2 separate regions of the Homo sapiens genome follow, and region 2 is linked to region 1. Evidence: promoter capture Hi-C in 16 types of primary human blood cells and fetal thymus (Javierre and others, 2016). All regions are on one chromosome and are shown on one strand. Each heading gives the region's core, a stretch centred on a gene start or on the middle of the fragment in contact. The rest is flanking DNA. Distances are from core to core; before and after follow the strand shown.

Evidence for each region. Contacts are between HindIII fragments. The CHiCAGO score rates a contact against its expected background, and 5 or more counts as called.
Region 2: a contact is called between a fragment that was not itself captured here and the fragment with the promoter of GGN in region 1, in 11 of 17 cell types (naive CD8 T cells, non-activated CD4 T cells, naive CD4 T cells and 8 more). The highest score is 10.5, in naive CD8 T cells.

Annotation. Positions count from the first base shown.
Region 1 is chr19:38,385,887-38,391,475 of GRCh38, forward strand. GGN (gametogenetin) reads right to left here and starts at 2,148. Exons shown (of 4, transcript NM_152657.4): 1 at 2,089-2,148; 2 at 1,875-1,936; 3 at 1-1,394. The coding sequence starts at 1,375. It overlaps SPRED3 (sprouty related EVH1 domain containing 3), which reads left to right and starts at 2,811. Exons shown (of 6, transcript NM_001394336.1): 1 at 2,811-2,921; 2 at 4,413-4,593. The coding sequence starts at 4,417. RefSeq lists silencers at 1,944-2,183, 3,643-3,937. The HindIII fragment of the contact is 15,577 bases long and covers 578-5,589 here.
Region 2 is chr19:38,918,436-38,924,024 of GRCh38, forward strand. It overlaps SARS2 (seryl-tRNA synthetase 2, mitochondrial), which reads right to left. Exons shown (of 16, transcript NM_017827.4): 3 at 3,803-3,832; 4 at 3,092-3,232; 5 at 2,957-3,011; 6 at 1,651-1,714; 7 at 1,327-1,432; 8 at 331-378; 9 at 1-95. Among named protein-coding and RNA genes, the nearest start is that of CCER2, 9.0 kb to the left of the region's middle. RefSeq lists an enhancer at 1-574. The HindIII fragment of the contact is 441 bases long and covers 1,337-1,777 here.

The DNA.
Region 1 (5,589 bases), core at 898-3,397:
GCGGCGTTGGCTGGAGCGCTGGTGGCTGCAGTGTGGGCGGCGGTGTGGGCGGTGGCAGCGGTGGTAACTCCTGCAGGCCTGGAGGCCCCGGGCGCATGGGCTCGCCATTGGTGGGTGCTGGGAAGATGAACGTAGGCGGCGCCAGCAGGGCAGGTGCGGGCCTCCGGGGCCCGGGAGCTGAGTGTATCTGCTCTGGTGGTGGCGGAGGGGAGCCCCAAGGCCCAGAGAGTGCGGCCGCACGCCGTCGCGGCGCCCCGATGCCTCCGCCAGCCCCGTTGAAGCGGAAGTGGCGTTCAGGGCCGTCGGGAGCGCTAACCCAGTCGAATTTGGGCTTCGAGCCTGGGAAGGTGGTGTAGGGTGGCGGCGGTAGGGCCCGGGCTTGGGACGCAGGCGCCGAGGGAGGACCAGAGCACCCTTCGCCGTCTCCATCACCTCCCTCGGCTTCCTGTGCCCCTCGAGAAACCTCTCCCAAGGGGCGAGCGGCTCCAGGAGGCAGGGGCCCTTGCTTCAGGACCTCGGCGTAAGAGATGGCACCTGAGGCAGCAAAGAGGCCGCCGCCTCCGCCGCCCCCCAGCGAAGCTTTGGCTGCTAAGGAACTCGAGGCTGCCGGAGGGGCCAAAGAGGGCCTCGACTTGAAGGTGATTTTACACAGCAGGCTCAGACCGGACTCGGAATCCGCAGGCTGGGCCATTTCGCCTTCGCCCGCATGGGGAGGCGCCCCTCCGCGAGCCCTGCCGGCCGTCTGGCCCTGGTTGCGGGGCCCAGCCTGGCTTTCTGTCGGGGGTGAGGCGGGTGTGGCCAGAGCAGGAGTGATTCTGCGGTCCGCCGGCTGCCGTTCAGAAGGTAATGGTGGTGGCGGCTTCCAAGTCTCCAGGGGCGGCGGAAATTGGGATGGGGCCCTCGGGACAGTGTCCTTCACGGATAGTTGCCGGGGCGGCGGCGGCGGCTTCAGCGGGCGGAGGCTCGGAGGGTCGCCCTGGCCGCGATGGCTCGCCTCCAGCAGGCGGCGGATCCGGGGAACTGGAGTGCCCGCGGGCTTTTGCCATTTAGACGGGCCGGGCAGCAGAGTCCCCGCGGGGGCCGGGGGTGGTGCAGAGACCGCGGCCGCCTCTTCAGGAGGGGGCATCACTGGAGAGGGCCGTTCTAAGGTGAGGGGCAGGGTCGAGGGTGAGGCCTGGGGCTCCCGGGGTACCATGAGTCCCGGGGGTGTGGCGCTGCCAGGGAACCAGACACCCAGCCCACGAGTCAGGCGCATGGCCTGGGAGGTCATCTCGGGCTCCACCAGGGACGTCCGGCGGGAGTCGGGGGCGCGGTCCGAGGGCTGCACTTTTCGGGAGCCCCCGCCCGCGGATGGCTCCGACTGCAAGTTCCCCATTTCTGACGGAGCTCGGAGACTAGTCAGAAAAATTTACTCCAGTCAGCCTGCCAGGGCCGTGGGGACCCTACGAGGCTGGCTGTACTTGATCTAATGCGTCCGCACCGGCCCCGCCCCTGTTCTCCAAGATCCGATCAGGCCCAAGTCCTTAGGTCGCACTCCTGTTCCCCGACCTTCGACACTCACGCCTTCTTGCCCATGTCCCCAACACAGCTGCTGTTAAGATACTTCACTACCAGCCCCATTATGTACTAAGGTTCCATGCCTGTCCCCTTGGCTGGTCATGCTGATCCCTCAGTCCTCTCCTCTAACTCTCCGACTCCCCGCCTCTCTCTAGAGCACCTGGGTCCCGCCCTCTTCCCAGGCAGGGGCAGATCCTCAGGCCTCACCCCTAAACCTCTTCCCGCTCCAGGTCTACTAGCTGGCATCCACAGTCAAGCTCCACCCCTGTCCCCAAGCTCCGCCCTGGCCCCGCCTCCCCCCAGAGGAACCCACTCACCGAGTCCTCCAGCCGAGCAGAGTTCAGACCGCGGCGCCCTGGGCCCGGGGCAGGGCAGGGAACTGCCGTAGCAGAAAATAACCGAAAAGAACGGGGGTGCGGGTGAAGGCAAGTGGGCGAGACAACTAGGGCGGACCCCGAGATGTAGGCCCCGCCCCCGGAGCTCGAGGCCCCGCCCTCCTGCGAGCCCGCGGGAGCCCGGCCCCTTACGAACCTAGGTCTCCCCTTGAAATACTCCGAGGTCTTGTTCCTCGCCCCCAGGCCTTCTGGTTCTAAGCTCCACCCCTTTGGGTTGTTCTCCTTAGCCCCTCCCCTTTAGAATGTCCCGCCCCTCTCATTCCCTCCCGAGGCCCCGCCCACGCGAACACCGATGCGTCGCTCCTCCCCTTTGGACCTCTCATCTGCCCCGCCCCTAAGGCAATTTACCTCTAAGCTCCGCCTTTTTAAGACCCGGCAACATCGCTTCTCAAGACCCTCTCCTTCCCCCCGGGCGCCGAGAAGGCCCATCCACCGTGGGCCCGCCCCTTCGTGACGCACGCACTAGTCCTCGCCTGCAGCATCCAAACCTCCTTATACCCAGGCCCTCCAACCCCACCCACTTGTGAAGGCTCCCCTCTCGCCCCACCCCTTATCGAACTCTGCCAGGCACCCAAGCCACAGCGTAGACCACCACCTCTTTAGAACCTTGAGACCAGTCCCTGTCCCTGCCCCGTCCCCTCCTCATAGCATTAGAGACCAATGGCGCAGATGGGTGGAAAAGTGGGGGATCCCCTCTGGATCTTAAGAAAATGGGGGCTGGGGGGTTGCTCTCTGGAGCTAGTGCCGGGCTCTAGGACCCAGCAGGCAAGTAAGCCCGCCTCGCTCTTACCCCTCCCCCAAGCCGCCCCTTCCCCCCCCACCCGTCTTCCAGGTTCCCCCTCCCTCCCCCCTCGCCCCGGCTCCCGGTGCCCGTCTCCAGCGCCGCCGGAGCCAGCCAGGGAGCCGGAACGAAAAGGAGGAGGAGGAGGCCGCGTCGCCGCCGCTCGGAGCCCGGCCGGAGCCTCGCAGGCAGGTGCCGAGGGGGGCGAGGGGGCGGGGGCTGACAGACTGCCTGCCCCGATGAGGGGGCGGCCGTGACCGCGCTGCGCCTTCTGCCCACCCAGGCGCCCCCAAGGCCCCGGCTAGGAGGACTAGAGAGTGGGGACCCCCCAAACTGCGCGGCAGCCATTCAGGGTACCAGTCTTCATTTGTGGGGTCTGGACTTTCTCCGAGGATGCCCCATTCACAAAATTCCGTCCTGGACCCTCACCGTTGAGGAACGCTGAGGACCACTCCCCCCGGGGGACACAGGATGTGTGGGGAGCGTAGGCCACCCTGAAATGCCAGTGCCCCATTCCAGCTAGGCCCTGGGGGGACCCCTGCTCTCATTCCCTGCTTCACCTGTTGTCGGGGGAGGCGGGCGGACAAAGGAAGCAGCGTCACGTGACTGCTCATTCACAAAATCCCATCCCATTGAGAAAAGGGGGCTGGGGGCGCTGCAGCCGCCCCTTCCCCTCCTGAAGGGCCCGGGAAACCCAGCAGCCTGCAGGTGGGGGAGGGGGCTAGAGCTCGTCCGGGTCCCTAAGGTTGGGACGCCAGGGTCCCTGTGCTGGATGGCAGTGAAGGGCTGGACACTGATCCCGATTACTGGGCGGAGGGCTACGTCCTCTGAGCTGGGGGGCGGGGTAAAATGGTTCTGAAGGATGCTGGGGCTGGGGGGCGGGAAGGGAAGAGGGAGGAAGGATCAATCTGCCCCCCCATCCCATCTTTCCCCCCTGGCTTCCCTCGGCTGGGGCCTGGGGGAGCAGCCTTGATTTTTGTGAATGAAATGCTCTCTGGATGTGTCTTCGGTCGCCCGTTTCTGACTTCCTCTGCCTCCGTCTCCCTCTGAGCCTCTCTTTCTGGCCATTTCTGGTTCTCTCCCTGTTCCCTGCCCATCTCCCGTTGCTGGGTGACTCAGTGAGCTTTGCATCCGGTCTCATTCATAAATCCGGGAAGGGGTGGGTGGGGGGGAAAGAGCCTGGGTTTCTCACCCAGCCTGTGGCCTGGACGACAGGGTGCGGAGGCAGGGTTGGGAGAACAGGAGCTGAGTTGATGGGCCCAGAGAAAATATATATGCGCAGGCACCCAGCTGTGAGGGGGAGCACTGGGTGGGGCTGTGGGTATGTGCTGAGGGAGGAGAAGGGGGTGATAGGGATAAGCAGGAGGGGGAGGGAAGGGCAACACCAGGGCTATGGGGGTGGGGACGGAGAGATGGGGGAAAGGTGGGTACAGAGAGAAAGGGCAGACATGGAGAAGAAGATAGAGGTGAGAGAGAAGAGATGGCATGAGGAAGAAAGGAGCTGTGTGGAAGACGGTGGCCATGGGGTTGAAGGTGGGTATTGCTAGCTTAGGGTGCAGTGGACCTGGACGTGAGAGATGAAGTTGGAGGGGAGATGAGGGTTGAGGGAACATTCCATGGGAGAGCAGGGTTTGAGCTCATGACTGTGTTGTCCCTGTCCTTCCCCCCACCTCCTGCAGGTACATGGTGCGGGTCCGAGCTGTGGTGATGGCCCGAGATGACTCCAGTGGGGGCTGGCTGCCTGTGGGGGGCGGGGGCCTCAGCCAGGTGAGCGTGTGTCGGGTCCGAGGGGCCAGGCCCGAGGGGGGGGCCCGCCAGGGGCACTACGTCATCCACGGGGAACGCCTCCGGGACCAGAAAGTGAGCCACCCTGGGGCATGCGGGGAGGGTAGGGACCTGGGGAGGGAGGGGAGAGGGGCTGGCATGTGGAGCAGAGGTCAGGTTGCCTCCCAGCCTAGGAATCAAGCTGGGGTGTGAAGTTTGGGAGTGAATATCTGTCCTGTAGATAAGAGTTGGGAATTGCAGGATACATGGGGTGTTTGGAGGGTCCTGTCCACTGCCACTTCCAGCCAGACTATCCTCGCTGTCTCCCTGTACTGCTCCTCCTCCCCGCTCCAACCCCAGGCTGTTCCACAGGGGGCACTGCCCCCCCCCCCCCGCCCCGACTCACACCATGTCCCTCCTCTGCTCAAAACCCTCCATCTTGCTCAGAGATCCTTGCCACGAGGCCCTACACCACCTGGCCCCTGTCTGCCCTAAGTATAGTGAAGCATTTGCTGGGGTCCATTTGAAAGTGTCAGAGATGGTTGACAATTCTATACATGGGTTCATCAGGAATAACTGGGCTGTCGGGCACAATGTGGAGGGACAGTGTTGAATCAGTTTCAGCTAGGGATGTAGTAGAAAGATATGGATTGTGTGAAAGGCTTGGGGGAAAGGTTTTTTTTTTGGAGCAGGAGTCAGTGGAGGGATTTGAAATGGAGTGAAGGAATATGGTGATACTAGGCAAGGATTTGAGGGAACATCAATAGGGTGTTGGCTAGCATCTGAAGGGGAATCTGTGGAAGTCTGATAAGACTGTTTTGGAGTAAGTGCTGGCTGGGTACAGTGCCTATAATCCCAGCCACTCATGAGTCTGAGGCCGGAGGAATGCTTGAGTCCAGAGTTTGAGACCAGCCTGAGCAACACAGAGAGAGCTCATCTGGAAAAAAAAAAAAAAAAAGAGAGAGAGAATATTTTTTGGGTAAAGTTTCCAGAGATTATTATCAGAAGAGGATTCACAATAATATTGTGAGATGTTCAGTAAAGTCTGGGAAGTATTGTTGAGCCAGAGGGGGGATGTTGGGTTATCAGAAA
Region 2 (5,589 bases), core at 307-2,806, 530 kb after region 1:
TCCGCTGTTCCAGCCAGGTTGAGATCTTTGAAGCGGGCAGGGTCGATGTTGTAAATTTGGGATGGGTTGGCATTTGGTGTCATCCCACAGCCTTCCTGGGGGAGGAGGCCAGGCCACAGGGATCAGGGGACAGGTAACCCTGGCCTCTCGTTTTACAGTCCCAACCCCAGCTCCTCCCCTGAAAACATCTGGAGCTGCCCTGGCCTCCCTGGTATGGCCTGGCCCCCTCAACCCAGCCCCAGGGCGGTCTCCTCAGGTTTCCCTGCCTCGGGCACCCACGGCAGGGCCTGACACCCAGGTGGGCGAGGGAAGCGGAGAGGCCTCACTCACAAACACTGCTCCGCGGAGAAGGTCTGGCACCGTCATGGGGGTGAAGCCCTGTTCAGGGGAGAGGATGAGTGAGCAGAGCTGGGACCCCTACCAGACCCCAAGCTCAGCCCTGAAGAAGGGGTGCTGCAGAGCCCCTTCCTCCTCAGACGAAACTGAGGCAGGGGCTGGCGCAGTGGCTCACCCATGTAATCCCAGCACTTTGGGAGGCTGAGGTGGGCGGATCACTTGAGGCCAGGAGTTTGAGACCAGCCTGGCCAACATGGCAAAACCCCCTCTCCACTAAAAAGGCAAAAATTAGCCGGCATGGAGATCGTGCTACTGCACTCCAGTCTGGGTGACAGAGCGAACTCTGTCAAAAAGAAAAAAAAAAAAATTAGCCAGCATGGTGGCATGTGCCTGTAATCCCAGCTACTCAGGAGGCTGAGGCAGGAGAATTACTTAAACCCGGGAGGTGGAGGTTGCAGTGAGCCAAGATTGCACCACTGTACTCCAGCCTGGGTGACAGAGCGAGACTCCGTCTCAAAAAACAAAAAAGTACAGATTTGGCCACACCCTCCCCTGCTTAAAAGCCTCCCATGGCTCCCTAGTACCCTCTGAAAATGTCTGAGTTCCTCACCGTGACCAATGCTCCATGCAACCAGTCCCTGCCATGTTTCAATGGATGCTATGATTCCCAAATGCTCCCTTTATACCGCAAGCAGGCAGTGAGGTGCAATGATTACAAGCACAGGCTCTAGGCCCAGCTCCAGACTGGCTGTGAGACCTTGGGCTATAGGTACCTCCCCTCTCTGGGCCTCAAGCCCTCTCTGTAAAGTGGGGATGATGACAGCACCCACTTCATAAAGTTGTCGTAAGGACTAAATGTGTCAATGATACACATGAAGCTCTGAGAGCAGTGACTAGGGCAGAGCAGAGATCACTCCCATCCCCGTTGGGCCCTCTGAGCTCAGCTTCGATGCCACCCCCTCCAGGCAGCCCTCCTATCTTGGCCCATACCCGGCGGAGAAGCTTGTTGAATGTGAAGTTGACCAGGCCGTGCTGCAGGAGGGCTCCAGCCCCGCGCAGGTAATAGGACCGGTGGCCAGACACGTGGGACAGGCGCCTGGGAGACAGACAGACAGGCGGGTGCACATGGGCCAGGCTGGCAGGGAATGTGGGGATGAAAACACCCGGGGGAAGAGGCCCGGCTGCTGGGTGGGGCTGGGGCATCAAAGATTCATGGCATTTCCACATCTCACGCTGAGGCCAATGAGGCAGGAGCCAGCTGTCGGGGTGCAGGCAGCTGGGAGAGGGGCGTGGGGAGCCAGGGGAGGGGCTCACTTCTGACGGATGATGTCGAGTTTCTCGCCAATTTCCAGGTGGCCCCGAGGTTGGAAGGAGAAAACTGGATGTGGGTGAAAAGCACCGGTGTAAGGCAGCGGGGAGAGAGGGATGGGGCCCAGATAGAAGCTTCCAGAGACAGCAGAGAGGAGGGACGGTGAGAGAAAATAAAGGAGGGGCAGGAGGAGAGAAGGGAGAAGAAGACACGGAAAGGGAGGGAAAGGGAAGAAAAGACAGACAGGAAGGGAGGGAGATAAAAACAGAGACAGGGAGAGGAAATGAGAGGAGGCAGAGAGGGAAATAAGAGGGCGCGGGGTGGGGAAGGCAGAGTTAGAAACAGAGGAGAGAGGCCAGAGGAGAAGGAAACACCACGAGGAAGGGAGGAGGAGAATCAGAGAGGAGGCACAGAGTTGGGGAGAAAAAGCCCCGGAGACAGGGACCAAAGCAGGGGGGTCAGAGAGAGAGACAGAGACACACACACACTCACACACATACATACACACACAGAGATACACACAGAGGTACGAAGACACACACACATATACAGACACACAGAGACAGACACATACACAGACACGCAGAGACAGACACACAGATACACGGATACAGACACACAAAGACAGACACGCACACACAGATACACACAAAGACACAGATACACAGACACAGATACAGACATACACACAGAGATACACGGAGATATGCAGATACACACACAGACACACAGAGACAGACACATACACACAGACACAGAGAAAGACACACAGATACATACACACAGATACATAGACACACACAGACACACACACACACAAACACAGATATACACACACAGAGATAGACACACACATAGACACACACACACAGACACAGACACAGATACAGACACACACAAACACAGACACACACACACAGATACAGACACACACAGATACACAGATACAGACACACACAGATACACAGATACAGACACACACATACAGATACAGACACACAGATACAGACACACATGACACACAGTCACACAACACATACATACACGACACACACTCACACACATACGATACAATCACACAACACAGGGTGAGACTGCCCAATGGTGAAGGGGGAGAGAATGAAAACCCAAGGACCGCCTCTCAGAGACAGCTCGAGCTCGGCCAAGGCAGGAAGCTGGAGCCACCTCCTGTACCGCCAGGAGTTCTCCAGGCTCCAGACATGTTCCCAGACCCCAGGGGCCCCCACCCCGAGACCCCAGAACCCCCACACCGCAGGGCTTGTCAGCTCCCAGGCCTGGGGTGTGGCCCACCTGGCTTGTCTCCGACCATGTGGAGCACTCGAGCCTGGCTCTCATCCCCGACGGGCTGCAGGGAGACAGCAGGAGTCACGGAAAGGTGGCACTAGGTGGGCCCCTGGCCTCCCTGCCACCCAGCACGGTGCTCACCACGTCTGGGTGGGTCTGGTTGGGCAGCTTCAGCGCCTGCAGGTAGAACTGCTCCTCAAGCTGGGCCTCCCTGGGGTACAGGTGAACAAGCTCCTTCCGGATCTCCCGGCCACGTGCCCGCAGACCCTGGTACTTGGGGTCCTGGGGGCAGCACAGGTGGGCTCAGCCCGGGAGAGGGTCAGGACTCCCTCATCCAGTGTGACCTTGATCCTGACCGGCAGAGCCCCTGTGGTGGACATTCATGCCTCTTCTCCAGGCCCAGGATCCTGAACGTCTTCGCAGAACTTCCCTTACCACCACATGGCAGGTTTGTGGGGAAAAGAATCAGGCCTGGCCAACTAGAACGTTCTATTGCCTTGGCCACAATGACTGGCTCAGAGACAGGCACCTGATGTCAGCTGAACTCATGAGAATCAGCCCCAGGACTTTAACTGGAACTATCAGGAAAGCGTGCTTGACTTTGCCTCCTACTTACACAAGGAGAGAAAGCTGGCCTGGGAATGGGAGGAACGTAGGACCAAATATGGAGCCAGCACCTGGATCCAGCCGCACCTGAAGCCAGTTTTAGTTTCATGCATCAATAGAGCCTATTTTTTTTTTCCCCTTAAACCTGTTTGAGTTGTTTTCTGTTACAATAGTAGAATCGTGACTGGCAGGGTATCCTCCCTGCCCACCCCCAACCCTGGATAGGACATCAACTCTTCACAGTACCTGCTGCACTTCACCACTGTCCTGGTTTGCCTGGTAGAAAAGAGACAGGGTGGGTGATTAGGTTGACAAAGTCGAGGGTGGGGAAGAGAAAAAATGGTGAAAGGTCAAACAAGGCCAGAGGATCTTAGTCTCCTGCTCTGTCAGTGCCTAGCTGGGTCCCTCTGCAACTCTGTGTTTCTGTTTCTCTATTGCTAACGCTACAAGGAGGCAAGATAATTAACAGTAATCACAGCCGCAGATCCGTATAGGAAGTGATGCCTCCATGCCAGGCTCTATGTACAGGGCTCTCCCATGCCATGATTTCTTCAAAATCCACTTTAGGAGGTAGGCATTCGTGTAAACCCTGTGATATGGTTTGGCTGTGTCTCCACCCAAATAATATCTCAAATTGTAATTCCACCTGTTGAGGAAGGGACCTGGTGGGAGGTGATCGGGTCCTGGGGGCGGTTTCCCCCATGCTGTTATCCTGATAGTGAGTTCTCACGAGATCTGATGGTTTAAAAGCATTTGGCAGTTACCCCCTGTGGCTGTCTCCAGCCACCATGTGGAAGGGAAAGTGCCTTGCTTCCCCTTCCGCCATGATTTTAAGTTTCCTGAGGCCTCCCAGCCATATGGAACTGTGAGTCAATTAAACCTCTTTTCTTTATAAATTACCCAGTCTCAGGTATTCTTTTTTTTTTTTTTGAGACGGAGTCTTGCTCTGTCGCCCAGGCTGGAGTGCAATGGCGCGATCTTGGCTCACTGCAAGCTCCACCTCCTGGGTTCACGCCATTCTCCTGCCTCAGCCTCCTGAGTAGCTGGGACTACAGGTGCCCGCCACCACGATCGGCTAATTTTTTTTGTATTTTTCGTAGAGACAAGGTTTCACCATGTTAGCCAGGATGGTCTCGATCTCCTGACTTTGTGATCCACCTGCCTTGGTCTCCCAAAGTGCTGGGATTACAGGCGTGAGCCACCGCGCCCAGCCTGATCTCAGGTTTTCTTTTTTTTTTTTTTTTTTTTGAGACGGAGTCTCGCTCTGTCGCCCAGGCTGGAGTGCAGTGGGGGGATCTCGGCTCACTGCAAGCTCCGCCTCCCGGGTTCACGCCATTCTCCTGCCTCAGCCTCCCTAGTAGCTGGGACTACAGGCGCCCGCCACTACGCCCGGCTAATTTTTTTGTATTTTTAGTAGAGACGGGGTTTCACCGTTTTAGCCGGGATGGTCTCGATCTCCTGACCTCGTGATCCGCCCACCTCGGCCTCCCAAAGTGCTGGGATTACAGGCGTGAGCCACCGCGCCCGGCCTCAGGTTTTCTTTATAGCAGTGTGAAAATGGGGCCAGGCGTGGTGGTTCACAAATGTAATCTCAGCACTTTGGGAGGCTGAGGTGGGCAGATCACCTGAGGCCAGCAGTTGGAGAGCAGCCTGGCCAACATGGAGAAACCTCATCTCTAAAACCTTGTACTAAAAATACAAAAATCAGGCCGGGCTTGGTGGCTTACGCCTGTAATCCCAGCACTTTGGAAGGCTGAGGCGGGCGGATCACGAGGTCAGGAGATCGAGACCATCCTGGCTAACATGGTCTCTACTAAAAATACAGAAAAAAAATTAGCTGGGCGCGGTGGCGGGCGCCTGTAGTCCCAGCTACTCGGGAGGCTGAGGCAGGAGAATGGCGTGAACCCGGGAGGCAAAGCTTACAGTGAGCCGAGATAGTGCCACTGCAGTCTGGCCTAGGTGGAAGAGCGAGACTCAGTCTCAAAAAAAAATTAGCTGGGTGCAGTGGCACGTGCCTGTAATCCCAGCGACTC